Regions from separate parts of the Homo sapiens genome. Here region 2 is linked to region 1. Evidence: promoter capture Hi-C in 16 types of primary human blood cells and fetal thymus (Javierre and others, 2016). All regions are on one chromosome and are shown on one strand. The core of a region is centred on a gene start or on the middle of the fragment in contact, and the rest is flanking DNA. Distances in the headings are between cores, read along the strand shown.

Evidence for each region. The method cuts DNA at HindIII sites, captures the fragments that hold promoters and counts their contacts. A CHiCAGO score of 5 or more calls a contact.
Region 2: a contact is called between a fragment that was not itself captured here and the fragment with the promoter of ATP5MC2 in region 1, in 3 of 17 cell types (megakaryocytes, endothelial precursors and M2 macrophages). The highest score is 7.2, in megakaryocytes.

Annotation. Positions count from the first base shown.
Region 1 is chr12:53,673,721-53,678,709 of GRCh38, forward strand. ATP5MC2 (ATP synthase membrane subunit c locus 2) reads right to left here and starts at 2,363. Exons shown (of 5, transcript NM_005176.7): 1 at 2,333-2,363. RefSeq lists enhancers at 2,065-2,514, 2,625-2,854. The HindIII fragment of the contact is 5,549 bases long and covers 1-4,553 here.
Region 2 is chr12:53,518,828-53,523,816 of GRCh38, forward strand. ATF7-NPFF (ATF7-NPFF readthrough) reads right to left here. Exons shown (of 15, transcript NR_159377.1): 11 at 4,449-4,557. It overlaps ATF7 (activating transcription factor 7), which reads right to left. Exons shown (of 12, transcript NM_006856.3): 11 at 4,449-4,557. Among named protein-coding and RNA genes, the nearest start is that of ATF7-AS1, 7.3 kb to the left of the region's middle. The HindIII fragment of the contact is 8,402 bases long and covers 1-4,989 here.

The DNA.
Region 1 (4,989 bases), core at 1,113-3,612:
TGAGGCAGGAGAATTGCTTGAATCCAGGAGGCAGAGGCTACGGTGAGCCAAGATTGCGCCATTGTACTCCAGCCTGGGCAACAAGAGGGAAACTGTCTCAAAAAAAAAAAAAAAAGTATTAAATTGTGTCTCCCCAAGATCTAAAGAAGATCTGACACCCTATAGGTATCTAAGTTGGTAGAAGTGAACTTACCTCAAACAGAAGGTGAGTTAAAAACCTAAAGGCAGGGTTTCTCCAAGTGAAGTGAGAAGCCCATCTGAACTAGAATTATCTGGGTGGTGTACGTATTAAAAAATGCATATTCTTGGGCGCAACTTGGACCTTCCTGGTCAAGATCTCTGGGGGAGCTAGGTTCAGTGGCTCATTCCTGTAATCCCAACACTGAGAAGCTGGGGCGGAAAGATAACTTGAAGCCAGGAGTTTGAGACCAGCCTGGGCAAACATCAAGACCTCATCTCTACAAAACATAAAATTAGCCAGGTGAGGTGGAAGTGCACCTGTAGTCCCAGCTACTCCAGAAGCTGAGGCAGGAGGACTGCTTGAACCCAGGAGCTGGAGGCTTCAGTGAGCTATGATCACGCCAGTTGTCCAGTATGGGCAACAACGTGAAACCCTGTCTATAAACAAACAAAAAAGATCTCTGGGAATAAGGCTCAAGTGCCCTGTATTTCAAACAAGTTTCCCAGATGATTATTAGGTATACTTAACGCAAGAGCGTGACCCTAAACCCAGTCTTGAAACTGTGGTAGTGGTAGAGGATAGACTTGAACTTGGATCTTTTAAGTTACATGCTTTCTAATATGTCACAGGCTGAAATACTCAGTGAATGCTTAGGGCTATTAAATACCACTTCATTAAATGAACTGAACTCAGATTGTCCCAGGTTAAAACACTTCTGAATCCAACATCTTAATTGCTCTTAATTTATTTTTTGCCCAGGCTATTGTGGAACTCCTGGCATCAAAAGATCTTCCCACCTTGGCCTCCCAGTGTTGGGATTACAGGTGTGAGCCACCACACCCAGCCTTAATTACTTTTAAGTTAATGGATGTCTTCAACTCTTGTCCTATCTAGAACTCTGATTTTTGCCTATATGTAACTCTAACCCAATTTTGCTGCCGTACTATTCAGGTTTTCTTGGGTCAAAATCCAATAGTTCTTTAAGGCTTTTAGAAAAAGAAGGGGTGGTTCTTTTCTAAGGGAATTATACCTTATTATCTTCTTTGTAAAATGCAGCTCTTAGGGGGATTAAGTATGTTCATTTACAAATTAACATACATAAAGAGTTTAATGTGGTGCTGGCATATAATAAACCCACAACAAGGGGTGGCAATTAAGTGATCCCACCATTGGCTATCTAACCATGGCAACTCTGCAATTGTTAGCCTACAACTTGGGCAAAGGCACTATCCAGAATCAGGACTCCAAAATCATCACGGGCTTTTTCCTCAGTGTAGATGAGTCACAGGGGTAGTAACTTAACTATTCCTTTCCTTAAACCTTCTTTTCCTTGTAACAGCAGAATCTGGGGAGGTTAATTAATCCTTCACAGGAAAGCTGGCAGGCAGGGTCTCATGCTGGCCCCACTAGCTTGGCCTTACCCCACCTTTCTGGGCCTGCTGCCTCAACAGAAACCCTCATCTCTAGCCCACCATTTGTGACTTTTACAACTTCACCAGCGTGCCGGGATGCGAGAAAGGTACTGGTAAATAACTAGTGATTCCAAAGCAACCAGCCTCTCTCTTCTGCCTTAGCTATCCCAAGCCACAACCTAACGGGAGGCGATGTTTTGGCTTTTTTTCCCACTTCTACCATGTTCAAGGTTTACTTTTTAAATTGAGGGGTGCTGACTAGAGGGATTGGTGACTTTAGACGATCCACTATCTCCATTGCTCGGAGCACCTGAGGTTCTGGGGCCTAAAGTCTGGAGATTTCAGAATAAAGAAGGCACAAGTCAGGATGAGAAGAGAAAGCAGAGATAGGAGGGGAGAGCCTGGGGGTTGTCACAATCTGAAAGGGCCAGAGGGCGAGAAAAGAGTGTTTGCAGGGACTGGGTGGAACAGGTGAAAAGCAGCACTCCAGGATCTAACTTTGGCCAGCTCCAAGGTATCCTCCCCCTGCGAGACATCCAAGATGGCGCCAGGCCCGCGCGGTTGGAGGTCACCGGCACGCGGAAGAGCCAACTCTAAGGCTAAGGGATAGCGGAAGCAAGAAAGGGCGAGAGGACCAGGGTGGGAGCACGCAAGGTAAGCGCCTCAAAGCATCCGCGCAAGGTGAGGTGTCCCGCGCGCGTGCGCAGCGCACAGAGGGCTCTAGGTCCCAAGGCCTTACCTGCTCCCACTGCAGAGAAGACAGAGAGGGGCGGAGCAGCGGGAAGAGCGAAAGGAAGGCTCAGCGCATGCGTGACCCGGGCCAACGAGTCGCTCAGCCACGGATAGAGTGATTGCAACATACAGGATCAGCTCAGGCATCACAGCGCCGCCTGCCAGGGCTGTGGCGGTATCCGGCCGGTTGCTCCACCTGGCGTTCGAGAGGAGAAACTACAGGGAGCGCCGACTGCAGAAATGAGGCCAACTCCGCGGAGTAAGCCGATCCGTAACGTGGACTGCGGTTTGGTCTGTACCGCGTTTGGGATCTCGGACTTGCGTCCCCTTTCCGAGCATGCGCAGTCGTCACACTGCCAAAACAAAACTCCTACTCAGAATTCAGTGTTAACATACGGTCGGGATTGGGGTTCAGTGCCTAAAATGCAGCAGGAGGAAGATCTTGGGAGTCCTGCTTTCTGTCGCGCCGGGACTCTGGCATCACTGGATGGCAAACCGGCTCCATGGGCGAATAGTCAGCAAAATGCCGCAGCTGCTTCTGGTGGCTTCGCCCTTTCCCCCACTCCCCGTTTCCTCCTTTCCATTCCGGTGATAAACCATGAGAGAAGCAGCATCAGCGAGCCAGAAGATAGGGTTAAATATGATCCGAATCCCTCTTTCCTGGCTCCTGGGACAGTCTAGGAATAACGGGCACCTGCGACCCGCTGTAAGGTTGCGAGGTCACTCCAGGCTTGCCCGAGCCTCTGCTCAGGTTTCAACTACGCGAGTTGGGATAAGCAGCGCCCTCCCCTCCCGCCCCCATGCTCTCCTGAACGTGGGTTTTCTCTCCCCTTTCGCTCGCCCTTCCCCTGATGGAAGGAGGTGGGGGAGGCTTCCTGGCCCTCATCTTTCCTAGGCCTCCTTGTCTCCCAGACAGGACCTGCCCTGCCCTTTGGAACAGGGCGACAAGGCCTATCCAGTTCCAAACCCCTGCCGTCCCTGCATCGTGCTTGAACGCAGCACGAGAAAGACGGGAAAAGCTCACCAAACCCCATAAAAAATAAAAAATAAAAAGAAAGCCGCGGCTGTAAATAAAGGCAAATCCGCCACTCTCTGAGGGGCCGTTTGTCCTCCCCTCCTTGGCCCCGTCCTTCCCGCCGCCCCCTCCCGGCTCCCGGGCCCCGCGGCGCCCCGGCCCCGAGCTCCTCCATTTAATCGGATTTGGGAGAAGGGGAGGATAAATCACGGCAGCAGCTTTACGGTCCCGGAGGAGAGGCGAGCCGCAGACAGGCACACCCCGGCCGGCGATAAAAACCGCCGCTGAAAGCCCACGGAGCAATTTCCCGGGACCCCGAGCGACGCCATTACAGGAATGTAATTTTGCCCGGATGAGGCCCCGAGTTTAATTATCCTCGCGGAGGAATTTCAATGCGGCCAATCCATCTTGCAGGCGGGCGGCAGAGGGATTTATATGGGCCCGTTATTTCACACCGATCCTCCATCTGCATTTTTATGGCCCTGAGCTCCTGAAAGGGAGGGGAAGGAGTGGGGAGAAATAGGAGAAGCGGGCGAGAAGAGGAGGGTGGTAGACTGCCTGTCTTTCCTAAATTCGCATTTCCAGCTCCATCAGGATTCTCACAGGTTCCTCTGAAATCCCCAAATCTCCAGTTTTAGTTGTTGATTGCGCCCCGAGCGGGCAGGTACGTGGGAAATGGAACTGGGATCTTTGGGAATCAATCAACAGGTATTTATCAAGTACCAAGTGGTGCCAGGCACTGTGGAGATGCTGTTAGGAGAAAGACAGGCTAGCAAAGACACAAGTTTATCCCCTGAGGTCTCCAGACATCTCCATTCCCACCAAAACGGAATTCTTTTAAGCTGTCAGCTTCACATCCTCAGTGGCAGAGAAAGTCCACAGTTCTTAGGAGCCACCACCCCCAAACGGCTGTTGCAGCTGTTGCGACAATTTAGACACTCAGATATGGCTAACAATCCCAGAGGAGGATCAGAGAAGGGGCCTGGGAGGAAGCTAAAGCTGGCTCTTTCCAAAAGTTGTTACAGCCTGCGATGTTTAACACTCCCTTGCCCTCATAGAATAATGGGTTCTGCGTTCAGACAAATCTGGGTTCCCAAATTGCTGTGTGATCTTGAGCTAGCTGTTTAACCCCCTCTAAATCTATTTCCTCCTATGTAAATTGAGAAGAATAATAGTACTTATCACACAGCCAATATTGGGATAATACATATGAAGCTTTTAGCAAGGTACTTGGTACCCAGTAAGAGTTCAGTAATTGCTAGCATTAAAATCATCATCGTCACCACCACCACCACCACCACCACCATCACCACCATCATCACCATCATCATCACTGCTTCTATAGTTAAGGGCATTGCAACTCAATTCTGCACTGCTACCTATATGGACTGTTTATTGCAAGGTCCTTGAGATAGTATCTCCTGAAAGAGACTCAACTACACTTTAAAAACGTTTTCACCTGCATAAGTCATACAAAACAAGTTATTTTACTTGCTGGTGAGTGGAGATCTGAGGGGAGGCTGAGAATCCTGGGACTATTACTACGAGGCTTGAAGCAAGAAATCAAATCCGCAAGGGAGCAGTGAGGCTCCAAAAAGGAGGTTTGTAAGGGGAGGGGTGAATTTGAAGACAGCAAAAGATCCAAGAGA
Region 2 (4,989 bases), core at 629-3,128, 160 kb before region 1:
GAGGTCAGGAGATCGAGACTACCCTGGCTAACATGGTGAAACCCCGTCTCTACTCAAAAAAAAAAAAAACCAAAAAATTAGCTGGGCATGGTGGCGGGCGCCTGTTGTCCCAGCTACTTGGGAGACTGAGGCAGGAGAATGGTGTGAACCCGGGAGGCAGAGCTTGCAGTGAGCCGAGATTGTGCCACTGCACTCCAGCCTGGGCAACAGAGCGAGACTCCGTCTCAAAAAAAAAAAAAAAAAGATTCAAATATTGCGTCCTCTGTGAAGCCATCTTTGTTACCCTCAGTACATTAACTGTTTTATTCTTTGTGTTTTCACAGCATATATTCATCAAACATTTTACTGAGCATCATCCATGTACCAGGCATGGGTACACAGAGAAGAAAACGGGAACCCTATCCTTAGGAAGCTCCCAGTTTAGGGGCTTTTTAACTGGGATATCTATCCTTACCTCATCCACAGGTTTATATGACCCTATGATTCTCTCAGAGGTAGTGACAGTGTCTTATTCATCATGTGTCAGGTACTTACATAATATCTATACCACACAGCAGGAACTAAATACATCTTTGCTATAATGAATATGTAAGGCCGGGTGCGGTGGCTCACACCTGTAATCCTAGCACTTTGGGAGACAGAGGTGGGCAGATCACATGAAGCCAAGAATTGGAGACTAGCCTGGGGAACATGGTGAAACCCCGTCTCTACTAAAAATACAAAAATGAGCTGGGCGTGGTGGTGCCCGCCTGTAGTCCCAGCTACTCGGGAGGCTGAGGCAGGAGAAAAAAAAAGAATAAGTAGTTTAATGGATTAACTATGTATCAGAGTTCTTGCAGGGACTAAGTGGAAAACTGACCGTATATAGATTATATACTGATAAACAGTCCTTATCCTCTTTAGCCCATCAACAGGATTTGTTTTTTTGGTATTTTTTTAGACAGAGTCTTGCTCTATCACCCAGGCTGGAGTGCAGTGGCACTATTTTGGCTCACTGCAATCTCTGCCTCCTGGGTTCAAGCGATTCTCCTGCCTCAGCTTCCCAACTAGGTGGGACTACAGATGCACGCCACCATGCCTGGCTGATTTTTTTTATTTTTAGTAGAGATGGGGTTTCACCGTGTTAGCCAGGATGGTCTCGATCTCCTGACCTCGTGATCCGCCCGCCTCAGCCTCCCAAAGTGCTGGGATTACAGGCGTGAGCCACCGAGCAACAGGATTTAAAATCACTGAACTTCTTGAAACACTTTTTTATTTTGATTTACAGAATACCACATTTGGCTCTGTAGCTGGTTTTCCTCCTCACTTCCTGGTTGTTTCTTCTCAGTCTCTTGTGGGTTCTTTCTCATTTCTATGAACTGTAAATGTTGGAGTACCCCATGGTTCATTCCTGGGACTTCTCTTTTTCTAGCTCTGCTGTCTCCCTTGGGAACTTCATCTGGTTTCAATGCTTTAAAAACTAACTATGGCCAGGTGTGGTGACTCACACATGTAATTCCAGCACTTTGGGAGGCCAAGGCGGGCAGATCCCTTAAGTCCTGGAGTCTGAGACCAGCCTGGCCAATATGGCAAAACATCATCTCTAAAATAACAAAAAAAAATTAGCTGGGCATGGTGGTGCACGCCTGTGGTCCCAGTTACTCAGGCTGAGTGGGGAGGATCACTTGAGAGCCTGGGAGACAGAGGTGGACCCTGCCTCCAAAAAATCCCAAACCAAACAAAACCAAAACTAGCTATATGCTGCCGACTCCCAGAGTTTTATCTTCAGCCTTTCCTCTGAATTACAAATCCATATAACCAACTGACTGCTTGACATCTCCACCTGTAAGCCTAATAGGCTCCTTAAACTCAGTTTGTCCAAAACTGAGTTCCTGATATACCTCCCAAACCATTTCCCCTACACTTTACCCTATCTCAATTAATGACAACTTCATTCTTGTGGTTGCTTAAGCCAGAAACTTTGGTGTAATTTTTTATTCTTTTTCTCATATATACCATCCCATCTGCTCTCATCACTTTAACTTCAAAACATATCCTGGATTCAGCCTGCTCTCGTCACTTTCACTACCGTCATCCCTTGCTTGTATTACCGTAACAGCCCCTAAGTGGACTGCCTGCTTCTGCCCTTGTACCCCTGATGTCCTGTTCAAATGTAAGTCAGATCAATTTTTTTTTTTTTTTTGAGACGGAATTTCCCTCTTGTTGCCCAGGCTGGAGCGCAATGGCACCATCTCAGCTCACTGCAACCTCCGCTTCCCAGGTTCAAGTGATTCTCCTGCCTCAGGCTCCCAAGTAGCTGGGATTACAGGCGCATGCCACCACGCCCAGCTAATTTTTTGTATTTTTAGTAGAAGCAGTTTCACCATGTTAGCCAGGCTGGTCTCGAACTCTCGACCTCAGGTGATACGCCTGCCTTGGCCTCCCAAAGTGCTGGGATTACAGGCATGCGCCCAGCCTAGTCAGATCAATTATATCACTTTTCTGCTGAAAACCCTCTAATGGCCCCCAGTGTGGAGTAAAAGCTGAGATCCTCACCATGACTGATGAGACCCTACATAAAATGCTGCTATTACGTCCCCTACTTGTCTCCAACTACTCTCCACCCCCAACTCCAGCTGAGCCTCCTTGATGTTCCTAGATGTACCAGGTACCTTGCGACTTTGCATCTTTGCAGTTGCTGATCCTCCTCCCTATAGTACTTTTCTTCCATATAAATGCATATAGCTCCCTCACTTCCTTCAGGTCTTTATTCAAAAGCCACCTAATCTAAAATTTCTATCCTGCTGCTAACATTTCATATTACCCTTCCCTGTTTTATTTTTCTTCTAACATTTACTGTTATCTAACATGTCATATATTTTACCTATTTATCTTGTTTATTGTCTGTCTCACCCACTAAAATATAAGCTCCTCAAGGGCAGGGATTTAATCTAATTTATTTGGTTCCCTATTATATCCCCAGCATGAAAAACAGTGACTGGCACAGAATAGACATTCCATCAATATCTGCTTAATGAATGAATGCACCCTGAAGTACATATTAAAATTAAAATTTAAGTAGAGATGTTTAAAATTGGTGATATAGTTACTCCTTTTCTATGGGAACACATCTCTGAAATAATACAGTGGAAAAATAATACAATATATCAAAGTTTGAGAGCAATAGTTCTATGAATTTAATTTGTAAAAAGAAAACTAGCATTTATTAGCTTTTATTGACCATAGGCAAATTATTCACAGTAATTTTAACTTCAGAATTGCACATGTCCTGAGCACAACTCTGTGGCCATTGCCTTCTAGCAGTATTTTATGTGCACTCATAGATTACAAACTGAAACCAACGTCAGCCTATCATTAGATAAAATGTACCCTATATCCCAATGTATCATCTGTGGTTTATGTGTTTTCTAGGCCAAGACAGTATCTTTGGAATAAGAAATACCTAGATGTGCTGGGCGCGGTAGCTCATGCCTGTAATCCCAGCACTTTGGGAGGCTGAGGCAGGTGGATCACCTGAGGTCAAGAGTTTGAGACCAGCCTGACCAATATGATGAAACCCTGTTTCCACTAAAAACACAAAAATTAGCCAGGCATGGTGGCTGGTGCTTGTAGTCCCAGCTACTCCGGAGGCTGAGACAGGAGAATTGTTTGAACCTGGGAGGCAGAGGTGGCAGTAAGCCGAGATCGTGCCATTGCACTCCAGTCTGGGTGACACAGCAAGACTCTGTCTCAAAAACAAAAAAAAAACAACATAGATGTGCCGGGCGCGGTGGCTCACACCTGTAATCCCAGCACTTTGGGAGGCTGAGGAGGGTGGATCACGAGGTCAGGAGATTGAGACCATCCTGGCTAACTTGGTGAAACCCCGTCTTTACTGAAAACACAAAACATTAGCTGGGCATGGTGGTGGGCGCCTGTAGTACCAGCTACTCGGGAGGCTGAGGCAGGAGAATGGCGTGAACCTGGGAGGCAGAGCTTGAAGTGGGCCAAGATCGTGCCACTGCACTCCAGCCTGGGCGACAGAGCAAGACTCCGTCTCAAACAAAACAAAACAAAACATAGATGTAAATCTTGGCTTCACCACTTTCCCAGCTTGGTAACTTTGGCTAAATGACCTAATCTGAGTGCAGAGTGCAGTTTTCTCACATATAAATGTAGATAATATCCATTTCATGAGAGACTTGGGAAGACTGTAGCATGCCTAACACAAAATATGCACCCGGTAAATATTGCTACCCTTCAACCCCCAACTATAACAGATAATTAGCTCTATATCGTCTACAAAAACATTTTTTTTCTAGGTCTGGTTGCTCCACAAGGGCCACTCACTCATCAGCGTGGGGTCCCCAGAACATTCAGAATGGAGTTATAAAATTATAAGCAGTTGAGACACTCAGTACATGCAGTTTACTGACTGACTGACTTAGCTTAGGTTGTGTGCCACTCACCTAAATAGCCTTGAGTCTTTTTCTGTAGTGCAGTGACTGGGCAGTCTTTATGAGCTAACAGTAGCTGTTTCAACTGGGCCACCTCATTGCGTAGTAATGTGACTTCATTCTGAGGAGGGAGGGAAGAAAAGAGTATCAAGAAAATTCATCCTCTACTCTTGCACCCTCAGTGGCTGTTCCCAAAGGAAGGACAGAATATTGCCTCGATTTTCTCCCCTGAATTGGGACAAGACTCCTGATCCAGCAAGGCTTCACAGAGCCCAGGGCCAGTATAGTCATGAATTCAATGACAGGAGTTGCTTACAGTGAAAAGTCAGGATTTATAATAGAAACATTACTCCTGTTTAAGATAAATATGATTCTACTGAAATTAGTAATACACATGCTCTTTGACTAAGAAAGCCTACTTCTAGGAATCTACATAACAGAACTGTTTACTCAGGTGCATGCAATGTTCATTGCAACATTGTTCTAGCAAAAAATTAGAGCAGTATCAATATCCATACCTTATAACATCACTACACTACAGAATATACTACTA